Regions from separate parts of the Homo sapiens genome. Here region 1 is linked to region 2. The links are contacts of gene promoters, found by promoter capture Hi-C in human tissues and cell types (Jung and others, 2019). All regions are on one chromosome and are shown on one strand. The core of a region is centred on a gene start or on the middle of the fragment in contact, and the rest is flanking DNA. Distances in the headings are between cores, read along the strand shown.

Evidence for each region. The method cuts DNA at HindIII sites, captures the fragments that hold promoters and counts their contacts. A contact is called where the count stands out against the background at its distance.
Region 1: a fragment that was not itself captured here is called in contact with the fragment with the promoter of VIM in region 2 in 1 of the 25 tissues and cell types used here (H1 embryonic stem cells).

What each region holds. Positions count from the first base shown.
Region 1 is chr10:17,592,256-17,597,746 of GRCh38, reverse strand. HACD1 (3-hydroxyacyl-CoA dehydratase 1) reads left to right here. Exons shown (of 7, transcript NM_014241.4): 6 at 3,364-3,542. Among named protein-coding and RNA genes, the nearest start is that of HACD1, 22 kb to the left of the region's middle. The HindIII fragment of the contact is 6,159 bases long and covers 112-5,491 here.
Region 2 is chr10:17,223,254-17,229,490 of GRCh38, reverse strand. It overlaps VIM (vimentin), which reads right to left and starts at 1,250. Exons shown (of 10, transcript NM_003380.5): 1 at 967-1,250; 2 at 1-215. The coding sequence starts at 68. It overlaps VIM-AS1 (VIM antisense RNA 1), which reads left to right. Exons shown (of 3, transcript NR_108061.1): 1 at 1-146. RefSeq lists a silencer at 2,557-2,771. The HindIII fragment of the contact is 8,806 bases long and covers 1-6,237 here.

The sequences.
Region 1 (5,491 bases), core at 1,942-4,441, 370 kb before region 2:
TGAATGTAGCTGGACTCTAATCCTAGAACACATCAATATCATTTCGCATGACAATGTTCTGGACCTCTGGCACCTTTGAAAATACTAACTTACCATATAGTCTCTTTTCATGTGCTGAATTTACAAAATTTGTCTGAAGAGGATAGCAGAATGTACATTGCATATTTTCCTGAGGTTGGCACATTAGACTTGATGGCTTTGTGTGTCTGTCTTTTGGAATGCATTTGCATGTCTTGAGTGTCTGGAAAAGATAAAAACTCTGCCATCGTATGTTTAAATTTGCTGTTTAGAAAGTGTTTATCCATTGCAGGCTGGGCGTGGTGGCTCATGCCTGTAATCCCAACACTTTGGGAGGCCAAGGTGGGCGGATCACTTGAGGTCAGGAGTTCCAGATCAGCCTGGCCAACATGGTGAAACCCCATCTCTACTAAAAAATTAAAAAATTAGCCACATGTGCCTGTAATCCCAGCTACTTGGGAGGCCGAGGCAGGAGAATTGCTTGAACTAGGAGGTGGAGGTTGCAGTGATCTGAGATCACACCACTGCACTCCAGCTTGGTGACACAGCGTGACTCTGTCTCAAAAGAAGAAAGTGTTTATCCATTGCCTTAATGTTAAACAAGTTATACAGTCTTTCAGCTTTGAAATCATATGTTACATAATACTTTGTCAGTTGATCATAATCATAAATAATTATGTTTCATGTCAAAAAGATCTTAAAAATCCCAGCCATCTAAATATGTTTCCCAACTCCATTAAGTAAGGTAAAATAATATTTGTATTTATGTTCAGATGTTGAAGCTGTCATTCTCGAATAAAACTACACTTTAGAAATGGCTTCTTAGTTATAAGTAGTTTGGCCTATTGTTACAGTTTGAATATACTTTGATTCTATTTATGTGTCATAAGTGTTCTTGGAAAAGTCCTCAGAATAGGTAATTGTATATATTAAGTTAGGTTTTTCATATTGATTTAAAATGCACTCCCTTCAAAAAAATTTTAGATAGTAATTGGGAACCTTCAAAGAAGCATTGTATCTTTTTTTTTAATGTGGTCTATCCATAGTTAAATCTCCCATACTGCCCTCAGAACTTAGAGAAGTAGTAACATGCAATCTTTTTGAAGTGCAAGTAAAGTCAAATTATATAATTTGTTCCCATTTCATTAGAAATTTTCATTGCCCTTAAGACTTTCAACTAGCTTATTGTAGGAGTGTTAATTTTTTCTTCTATTGAAGAACAATCCTGCCAAAAAAAAAAAAAATCTTTTGAAAACCACATAAAGTAAAAATTGCAACTTAATCAGTTTGGGTATTTTACTGAGACAGGTATATAAAATGTCCAGTTATGGGATTTAATAAATTGAGGAATAGGGAAAGATTGATTTAAATGATACACAAATAACTACCCAAAACTGGTAAGAAAGCAGGGAGTTTCTCCAAGGCCAAGAAGGGATTAACAGGTACAGTGAAGGAATCATTCTTCTTTCTTGAATAGCTCATCTATTTTGGCAAATAATTCTGCCCTTCTCCCCATCTCTTATCTTCGCATATCCTTGACATACAGGAATAATGCAATTTTTAATTTGTCTCCAAGCTTCTTCAATACTGACAACTTTGACTTTTCTTTATAGATATTTCCTAATGCCAACAAAATGATTAAATAAAATACAGATTAATTTGATTTCTTTTTCCATCAAAATGTTGACCTTTTGTTTTAAATTAAAAACATTTTTCTTTTTTTAAATTAAATTTATTTTTTTTGAGACAGGGTCTCGCTGTGTCACCCAGGCTGGAGTACAGTGGTGCGGTCTTGGCTCACTGCCCCCTTGACCTCCTAGGCTCAAGCAATCCTCCTGCCTTAGCCTCCCAAGTAGCTGGGGCGACAGGCATGCACCACTGTGGTCTGCTCATTAAATTTTTTTTTGTGAGACGGGGTCTTACTATATCGCCCAGAGTGGTCTTGCACTCTGGCCTCTTAAGTTTTCTGTGGTAACTGTTATATAGTGACTGAGTCAGAGAAAAATGATTTTTTTTTTTAATGAAGAAATATGATCATCTTGGATCCTTTAGGCCCCTCTTATTGGAGACCAGCCAGTAGAACACAGAGTGTTTCCTAATTGGAAGCATACAGGATGCCTGGCCTACTGTGTGTTCCAGACCTTGCCACAGACCAAATGAACACATGATGACTTTGGATTTAGAGTAGAACTTTCTTAACTCTACTTTAAACAAGCTCACTCTTCTTTTAATGTGGGAATTCAGGAACTAACTTGTCAATTTATTTTGTTACGGTAGCAGTTTTAGACAATATAATATACTCATTAGTAGCTACTCATGCTTCAGGTGGTATTATCAGTTTTCTGCAATAATTGGTTTTCATTAGTAACCACAAAGACTTTTTCAAATGCCTCTTAAAAATAACTACCTTGGTAATTTCAAGGTTTAGATATAAAATTTAGGATAATCACTGGTCTTTTTAAACGCAGTGTTTGATCAATAAATTACTAGCTGCCGCGGACAAAAGCAGTCATTTGTGATTTTATGCACCAAAGAAGTTACCATTACAATACTTTTTTTAAAGCTACATAGGCCGGGCATGGTGGCTCATGTCTGTAATCCCAGCACTTTGGGAGGCTGAGGCGGGTGGATCACCTGAAGGCAGGAGTTCAAGACCAGCCTGACCAACATGGTGAAACCCTGTCTCTACTAAAAATACAAAAATTAACCGGGCGTGGTGGCGGGCGCCTGTAGTCCCAGCTACCCAGGAGGCTGAGGCAGGAGAATTGCTTGAACCCGGGAGGTGGAGGTTGCAGTGACCCAAGATTGTGCCACTGCACTCCAGTCTAGGCGACAGAGTAAGACTCCATCTCAAAAAAAAACAAAAAACAAAAAAAAAAAACACCAAAAATTAGCTGGGTATGGTGGCACACACCTGTAATCCCAGCTACTTGGGAGGCTGAGGCAGGAGAATTACTTGAACCCAGGAGGTGGAGGTTGCAGTGAGCCAAGACTGTGCCGCTGCACTCCAGCCTGGTGACAAGAGCGAACTCCATCTCAAAACAAAAACAAGAAAAACTACATATACATTTTTTAATACATAAAAGTATTTTGGTACTCTAAAATAAGTTGATACTATTTTATTAAAAAGACATTGCCTATTATGGAAACTGGTATTAGGAAAAAAAGGATGATAATCAATAAGCAAATGATTAAAGTAGAACTATTAACCTTACGTAAGGTTATTGTAAATATGTAAAGAAAAGAGAATTTTGAAGTTTAAATTTAGTAGTAGCAATAGACCTGCAATGTAAAGTCTAATAATTATTGTAGAAAAATAATTCTCTGAGGTTTTTCTTTCTCCAGATATAATTTTTTTATCATCTTATATCCTGTTGGAGTTGCTGGTGAACTTCTTACAATATACGCTGCCTTGCCGCATGTGAAGAAAACAGGAATGTTTTCAATAAGACTTCCTAACAAATACAATGTCTCTTTTGACTACTATTATTTTCTTCTTATAACCATGGCATCATATATACCTTGTAAGTATATACTTATTAGTACTTTGATTTGACATATGATGTGGAAATTTTTGAAAGGATATAATAATATGCAAGGGGAAATAATTAGAAATAATTGCTTACAAATACATTAAAACTTCGGTTTAACTCCATATTTACTGATAATTTGGGAAAAGTGAAGGGAGATAGAGGCAGAAGACAGTTCATTAGCTATGAGAATAAAGGCAGGTAAATTAACGCATGGATTATTGCTTTCTCAAAATCATTTAAACATCAGCTTAGTATGATTTTTTTAAAGAAAGATAAAAACAAATCATGTTTAAAGCATTAGTGCACTTTTTACAAGCATTTAGAATTATATGTCTGAGTATAAACACTGTGTCCAAGAAAATTTCAGATCATTTCTATCTATTCATTAAGCATATACTTGGAAAAATCATCTAGGAGTAGTTTTGAGTCTTATTTGTGTTGCTCTATGTACTTGCAAATAATAAAGCCTCTTTTCTTAAAGGATTTTGAATAAGTCAGCCTCTTCACTAATTTCTCATCATCTTTCAGCAGTTGAAGTGAATTGGTAAGGCTTTACTCCATTTCAGTGCTGCTAATAGTGAGGCAGGGCTCCGTGGCTCATGCCTATAATCCCAGCACTTTGGGAGGCCGAGGCAGGTGGATCACCTGAGGTCAGGAGTTCGAGACCAGGCTGGCCAACATGGCAAAACCCTGTCTCTACTAAAATACAGAAATTAACTGGGCATGGTGGCGCATGCCTGTAATCTCAGCTACTCAGGAGGCTGAGGCAGGAGAATCGTTTGAACCTGAGAGGCAGAAGTTGCAGTGAACTGACATGATGCCATTGCATTCCAGCCTGGGCAATAAGAGTGAGACTCTGTCTCAAAAAAAAAAAGGCGTGGGGGCTAATAGTGATATATTTTTAAGTCAAATATTGATAGCTCTAAAATCTACATCGACATGATACAAATTATTTCATCTAAAGGAGATGCGCATAAAACTTGGCCAGCCCCTTGAGGTCTCCAACTTTTTTTTGTTGTTTTTTTTGAGACAGAGTCTTGCGCTTTTGCCCAGGCTGGAGTGCAGTGGCGCCATCTCAGCTCACTCCAATCGCTGCCTCTCAGGTTCATGGGATTACAAGCGCCTGCCACAGTGCCCACCTAATTTTTGTATTTTTAGTAGAGACGAGGTTTCACCATATTGGCCAGGCTGGTCTCAAACTCCTGACCTCAAGGGATCCACCCACCTTGGTCTCCCAAAGTGCTGGGATTACAGGCATGAGCCCCTGCCCCCGGCAGATGTCTCCAACTTGTATCTTTCCCAAAGTCAAAATTGACTTAGTGGTGAAAGATATGTTTTCCCCTTGTCTTCTACCACTTCAGCCTGATTCTGTATCTGATTTTCTACCCCAGCCAGTTCGGGAGAGCTAAGGAGGGGATGCCTACTCTATTGGTTCACATCCCTCTCTTTTCCCAATGGCAGGTTAATGGTAGCATTACTTGAACAGAACCAGAGCTTGCTTCGGTGTCTGTCTGACAGTTACAGGTTCAAACAGTGGGTTCTCTTCCTCCTCATGGCTTTTGAGGCATCTCCATGGAAATGGAGAGCCTGAAGCACCTTTTTCAGTTGTCCTGGGAGATGTAGACTCTGGCCTGTACCAGTAGCAGCTTCCCAGTTCACCATGCTGCCAGCTACTGAGTCCCACTGGCCAGAGAATCACTCAGCCCAGAACATGTTTTCCACTGCATTTTTTTTTAATTCCCTCCTCCCCCTGCATTCTTAATGTTAGTAATAAATCAATTAATTTTACTTATTAAATCCTTTGCTAATTAAAAGTACTTTTTGAGTACTTAGTATTCAAAAGTAGTAGTATTATTTCTCATTTACATTAAGATGAAAGAGGTTAAGTGAGTTGCTTAAAAATCACTAGCTTGTGGCCTGGTGTGGTGGCTCACACCTGT
Region 2 (6,237 bases), core at 1-2,500:
CGGCTCGCGGTGCCCGGGCCGCCGAACATCCTGCGGTAGGAGGACGAGGACACGGACCTGGTGGACATGGCTGCGGAGGGTGGCGATGGCCTGGGCGGCGGCGGTGGCGCGGACTGGCTCCCGGAGAAGAGGCGAACGAGGGCGCGGTGGGTGTGGGTGGTGGGAGCGCGGCTGCGTCTCTGGCGCGGGGACCTCGGAGCGAGAGTGGCAGAGGACTGGACCCCGCCGAGGGCGCTGTTTTTATAACCCCGTTAGGAAAGAGGGTCCCCTCCCACTGCCATCCCAGCCGCGGAGCGCGCCAGCCAATAGGGACCTAGCGAGAAGCGGGGAGGGTGGGCGGGTGGGGTGGGGGCGCCCTCGAGCCTTCCTGCTCCGGGGCCTGGGACTGGGCATGGTCCCGTTACTTCAGCGCTGGGCTGGGACTTTTGGGGGCTTTCCGGATGATAGTCTGAGCTGGGCTCACCCTGGGGTGCTGAAAAAGGCGGGGTCGCGCGGTGAGGGGGGGGTCCGCCTGGGACTGAACCAGAGGGGTCCGGTGGCACCACGCCAAAGGGGCGTGGGAGGAGGTGCGCGGCGGTCTCGGGGCTGCGGTCAGGCGGGGAGACCCGCGGGCAAAGGAGCGGGAAGAGGAAAGAGTAAGGAATCCCTCAGATCTGAAGTCGCGGAGAAAGAAACAAAGAGCGCCTGAGATTGGAACGCGGGGTGGGGGCGCGCACAGCGCAGGAACGCAGGGCTCAGGCCTCGCCGCAGCCTCGCGCGCCGCCCGCTTGGAAAGGGGGGCTGCTCCGGCCCGCGCCTCTGTCCATCGACTTGCCTTGGCGGAGAGATGTTGGGGGGAGGGGAGGTTCTGTCGAGGGACCTAACGGGCTCAGTCCAGCTTCGGACGGCGGGAGTTGCGAGACGGCGGTGGCAGAGGAAAGCCCGAGGGAGAGGGGTGGGGTCGCTTAGTCACCGGCGGTGACTCACCGCGCCCTGCTGTCCCGCCGATTGAGGGCTCCTAGCGGTTTAGGGGAAACCGTTAGACCAGATTGATTCAAGTCTCAGCGGGCTCCGCGCGCGCTGCTAGTTCTCAGTGCTACCAACTTACAGCTGGGCCATCGCCTTGCTGTGTGCGGTCGGGCCCTGTGGGGGACAAGAGCGCCCCTAAGTTTTTAATAACTCGCTAAAGCCTGTCTTTGCTCGAATGTGCGGACTTTTTGTTAGCAAGAAACTTCTGCAGCCTTTGGAGAGGCGCCATACGTGGGCCTCCCAGATCACGATTGCACCGGGAAGGTTTTTCTTGCAGAGTCCCCGCCCCCGTCCCTCTGGTCTCCTCTCGCTCTTCCCCCTCCCCCCATGAAACCACACCCAACTTTTTAAACAAGATCTGAAAATTCTGGGTGAAAGAGGAAACTCGACGTCCGTAGTTTCAAAATAGAACTCAGTGATCAGTGGTTTTTACCCTGGTGGAAGTCATTAAAGGTATAATATGAGCCAGTTAAAGAATTAATTAGGTGTTGCTTAAAAACCCCAATTTGATTAATGAGTTCAAATGAAAGGCAATTATGTAACACAAATGACAGAATCTTTGGCGGCAATAGATTTATGTGTTAATTTTAGGACAGCAATGCACAGTACAGGGTTCACGGTGATTTGTCTGGGAAATGCCATAGGTCCTGTTTTCCAAAAGAATTCGTGCAATTGACCTTGGGGTGAGGGGGATAAAACTGTCTACGCAGCAAAAAACTTCGTGTCCAAGACATGGAGGGAGTGTTCAGATTCGGTCACCTTAACCTTTCTAGGGAAATCACTCAATTCAAGGGCTGTTGTTTCAATATTAGTAACGAGCAGAGCTGAGTACTTACCCGCCAAGGGAGATAAAAGGAGACTATGTAAATCAGTCTTCTCGTGATTTAGTAGCAATTGAAAAGGCACAGGTTTTTTTGAGTATTTAGATTTATGGTGTACTGAAAGGATTAACTGCAGAACCACTGTAAAATTGATTCTGCAGTGGATAGGAGAAAAAAAAGTATTTCTCTCTTTTTTTTTGGTGGCGGCAGGGGGTACTGCAGGTTACTTGGTATTTAAGAAACATAATTTAGAGGTAAATGAAGAGCGTATTCTGACTTCTTTGGACAAGCCTCTTTTAGGCAATATTTTGTTTACCTTATCCCAGTTCGTTCTTGCAAATGGTGCTTGCCAAGGTGGAATTACAGGACTCTCTACTGCCCAGCTCGCCTGCTGGGGCTTTCTTTTATTCTCTCTTTCACTGGGAGGCTGCAGGTCATTCCCCAAGAGCATTCCTGGGGCTGGGTGCCCTGGAGGACAAGCCTATGCTCTGAGTTACATCTTGCTTTCTGAGAGCCCTTTATTCAAGCCACTGCTCAGCAAATGCCACCATTGTGAGTGTGCCTGGAACCCTTAGAATGAGAAAAGTGATCTCCCTATGGGAGGAAGAGAGTGTGGAACTCACTTCTACGTGCAGTGCCGATCCCAGGGCAATGCGACGCTTGCTGACTGACTCACTATGGAAAAGGAGGACAAGGCATTGGCGAGGTGTGGCACTGTGCCCTGCTGGTGCCCATAGCCGATTCCTCAGGGCTGCGGTGATGTCTCCTGGAATGGGCACTGGTCCTCTTCATCATCTCAGGGATAGGTAGCTCCTCCTTCCAACCTGTCCCCATTCTGAAGTCTCTGGGCTGTGATAGGCTGCTCTCTTGTCACAGACATATGTTTGTTTGATGCATATAGAATGTATAAAAGTGTAGGTGTTCTGTAGTCCCAGCACTTTGGGAGGCCAAAGCAGGAGGATTGCTTGAGATCAGGAGTTTGAGACCAGCTTAGGCAACATATATATATGAAACCAAAAAAAGCCAGGCGTGATGGTGCACACCTGTGGTCCCAGCTACTTGGGAGACTAAGGCAGGGGGATTGCTTGAGCCTGGGAAATTGAGGCTGCAGTAGGCTGTGCACACCACTGCACTCCACCCTGTGCAACAGAGTGAGAACCTGTCTCAAAATAAAGTATATGTATGTACTACACACACATATACATACGCACATATACAGCGTTCAATGTGTTTTTCCTATTAGAAAATGCCATTGTTTTTGGTGGGCTGCAAGAGAAGTGAAAGTTGCAGAAACACTTTCATTCATTCATGTAGAATTCATGAGACTTAAGAATTCATTTCATTCTGAGATAAGATATACAGTGCCTCAATCAATGGGTGATAGTTTTCAGTCAGGGAGATCAATGAATCTGAACTCACATCCTTGAGTGAGACAACTCAGCCTGCTCTCTATGCTACTGTGTTCTTAGGTATCTTTTGGGTACACAGACATAGCTTTCCCGGGTTTTGTGTTTATTTTTTAATTGCTATGAAAACCTATCTGAGAAGTATTTTCAAGTGCTGGACTGGGAAGCTGCTTTCAACACAGCATGATGCAAGTTGCATATAAATAAAGACGTGGTGGTATAATTCATAGGCCAGGCATAAACACTACCACATCTAAATTACCAACAGTGATTTTGGAATTTGCAAGCTGTCATGATGTCAGTTGAATTGGGTGACTTAAACTGACGGACCAGCCAGCCGTGTGGACAGAAGCTTAGTGGCCTATGGAGGCTTTGGGAAAGCTGGCTAGCCATGCCAAGAGAACAGCATCTAGCAGGACTGTTTGGATGGAATGTTAGAAAGAAGAAGGAGGGTACACTGAGAGCATGAAAACCATAGCAAAACCTAAAATCCATGGAAATACAGGTAATAATAATAAATAGTATAATAGGTAATGTCGATGCCAACTGAATGACAGACACTGTGTATATATTTAATTTAACTTGATGCACTCACACCCTCCTGCAAGATAGACTTGATCATCCATTTCACTAATGAGGAGCCTAAGATGCAGGCTAGCAATTTTCTTGTGGTTGTATGACTAGCAGGGGTGGGAAGAAGGGGACAAGAATTTGAATCGAGGCCTTTCTGACTCTAAATGCACTTCTCTTTTCTGTTTGCCTTGATAACAAAATTTTGCTTACTATCAACCAGTTCAATTCACAAATATTAAGTGCTGGACTTATCATTTAGGGACCTACTGTGTTCCAGGAACTGAAGAGATGGGATGATTAACACAGATCTTGCTGCGAAGGGGCATATTTTTAGAGGAATTTGGCAGACAGCTATAACACCATGTTTACGATGTAAAATGATGTAAAAAACAAAATCAAATGACGTAACAGTGATCATACTATGTAAGAAGGGAGATTTGTTTTCACCTGCATTCTAAAACATTACTTTCATTAGTGAGTTAAAAATTTTCATTTAGATTCCATTTTGCCTCTTAGGAGGAATCACATTCAAGACTGGGTTTAGCTCGTCTCACGCCCTAAAGCCCATGAACCACCATCGCTTCCCCTGCCAGCTTCCCTGTCTATTCAGGGCAATACAGCAAAACAACAAGATTGGAAACTTTCATCATTGCCACTTCCTAACTAACTCTTCCATCTCAGATCCAATGGGTATCATGCCCCGCTCTTCCTGGATCCACTCCTCTGTTACGTTGCTGTCACTCAGATCCAAGCCATTTCATACCTCCTTCCTGCAATACTGCAATTGGCTTCCGTTCCTCCATGCTTTCTTGCTTTCTTTCTTTTCTTTTTTTTTTTTTTTTTGAGACGGGGTCTCGCTCTGTCCCCCGGGGCTGCAGTGCAGTGGCGCGATCTCGGCTCACTGCAAGCTCCGCTTCCCAGGTTCACGCCATTCTCCTGCCTCAGCCTTCCCAGTAGCTGGGACCAAAGGCGCCCGCCACCAAGCCCGGCTAAGTTTTTGTATTTTTTTAGTAGAGACGGGGTTTCACCGTGTTAGCCAGGATGGTCTCAATCTCCTGACCTCGTGATCCACCCGCCTTGGCCTCCCGAAGTGCTGGGATTACAGGTGTGAGCCGCTGCGCCCGGCCCCTCCATGCTTTCTTTTCTGCCACCAATGCATCTATCTTCAAGCCATCACCCCTTTTTCTTTAAAACTTATATATATATATATAGAGAGAGAGAGAGAGAGAGAGAGAGACAAAGGCTTGCTCTGTTGCCTAGGCTGGAGTGCGGTGGCGCAGTCATAGCTCACTGCAGCCTCTTAACTCTTGAGCTCAAGTATTCCTACTGCCTCAGCCTCCCTAGAAGCTGGGAGTGCCATCCATGCCCAGCTAACTTTTTATTTTTTGTAGAGCCAGGGTCTTGCTATGTTGCCCAAGCTGGTCTTGAACTCCTGGGCTCAAGCAATCCTCCAGCACTGGCCTCCCAAAATGTTGGGATTAAATGTGTGAGCCTCCACATTTGGCCAAAAACTTCCTTCTTTAAACTTCTTGGCAGGAATTGCTCATTTCCTCACTGGAATGTAATCTCCCTAAGGGCAGGTAGGAATTTTTCTCTCTTTTGTTGACTATTGTATTTCCAGTGGCTAGAGAAAAGCCAGGCACATCTGTCGAATATATACATTAATACATGAGTAGTTCATAGAAGGAAGAAATATAGGTGTGGGGCTAATATTTACTGGTGCTTATTATGTTTAAGCATTGTGCTAGTCACTTTAGACATGACTGCATTTAATCTTCACAAGGTATCGTGATACACAACTTTTATTCTTTTACTCCAAACATACTTATTGAGTATTTGCCATGTGCCGGGCAGTCTGGTAGACACTGGGGAAGGGACCAAAGCAGGTATGGCCCAAAGCCTCTTGGAACATAGTGTTGAGTCTGCGTATATGTATATGATACAGAGAGACAATACTCGTAAAGGAACAAACAAAATGATTGCAACTGGTGATAAAGACTATGAGGGAAACAGAAATTTTCCTGCAGAGGAGGTTGAGGATCATAGTTAACTAGTGGCCTTTGGAAGTTATGTCAAGTATATATATCTATCCTCATTTTCCACTGTTCCCCACAAGCAGCAATTTCAGTAGAACCCTAAGCTCCTTCTTCTTCCATGAATATAGTACATTTCCCCCACCCTCAGGTCTTTCCTCATATTCCATTTAACAGATAGATGTATTCATATTTTTTTGCACTGCCTGCAATGTTTCTTAGTATATTTCAGTAAGTAAGGTGCTTTTTGTGCCTCTAGGGATCTCATAGCTTTGTATAAGGATTAGAAAGCAGGTAAAGAGTTGGAATACATAGCAGAATGTGGTAAGTGAGTGCTGTAGCACAGATAGGATAAAATGCTAAAGAGCATAGGTGGAGAAATAATCATTGCAGCGC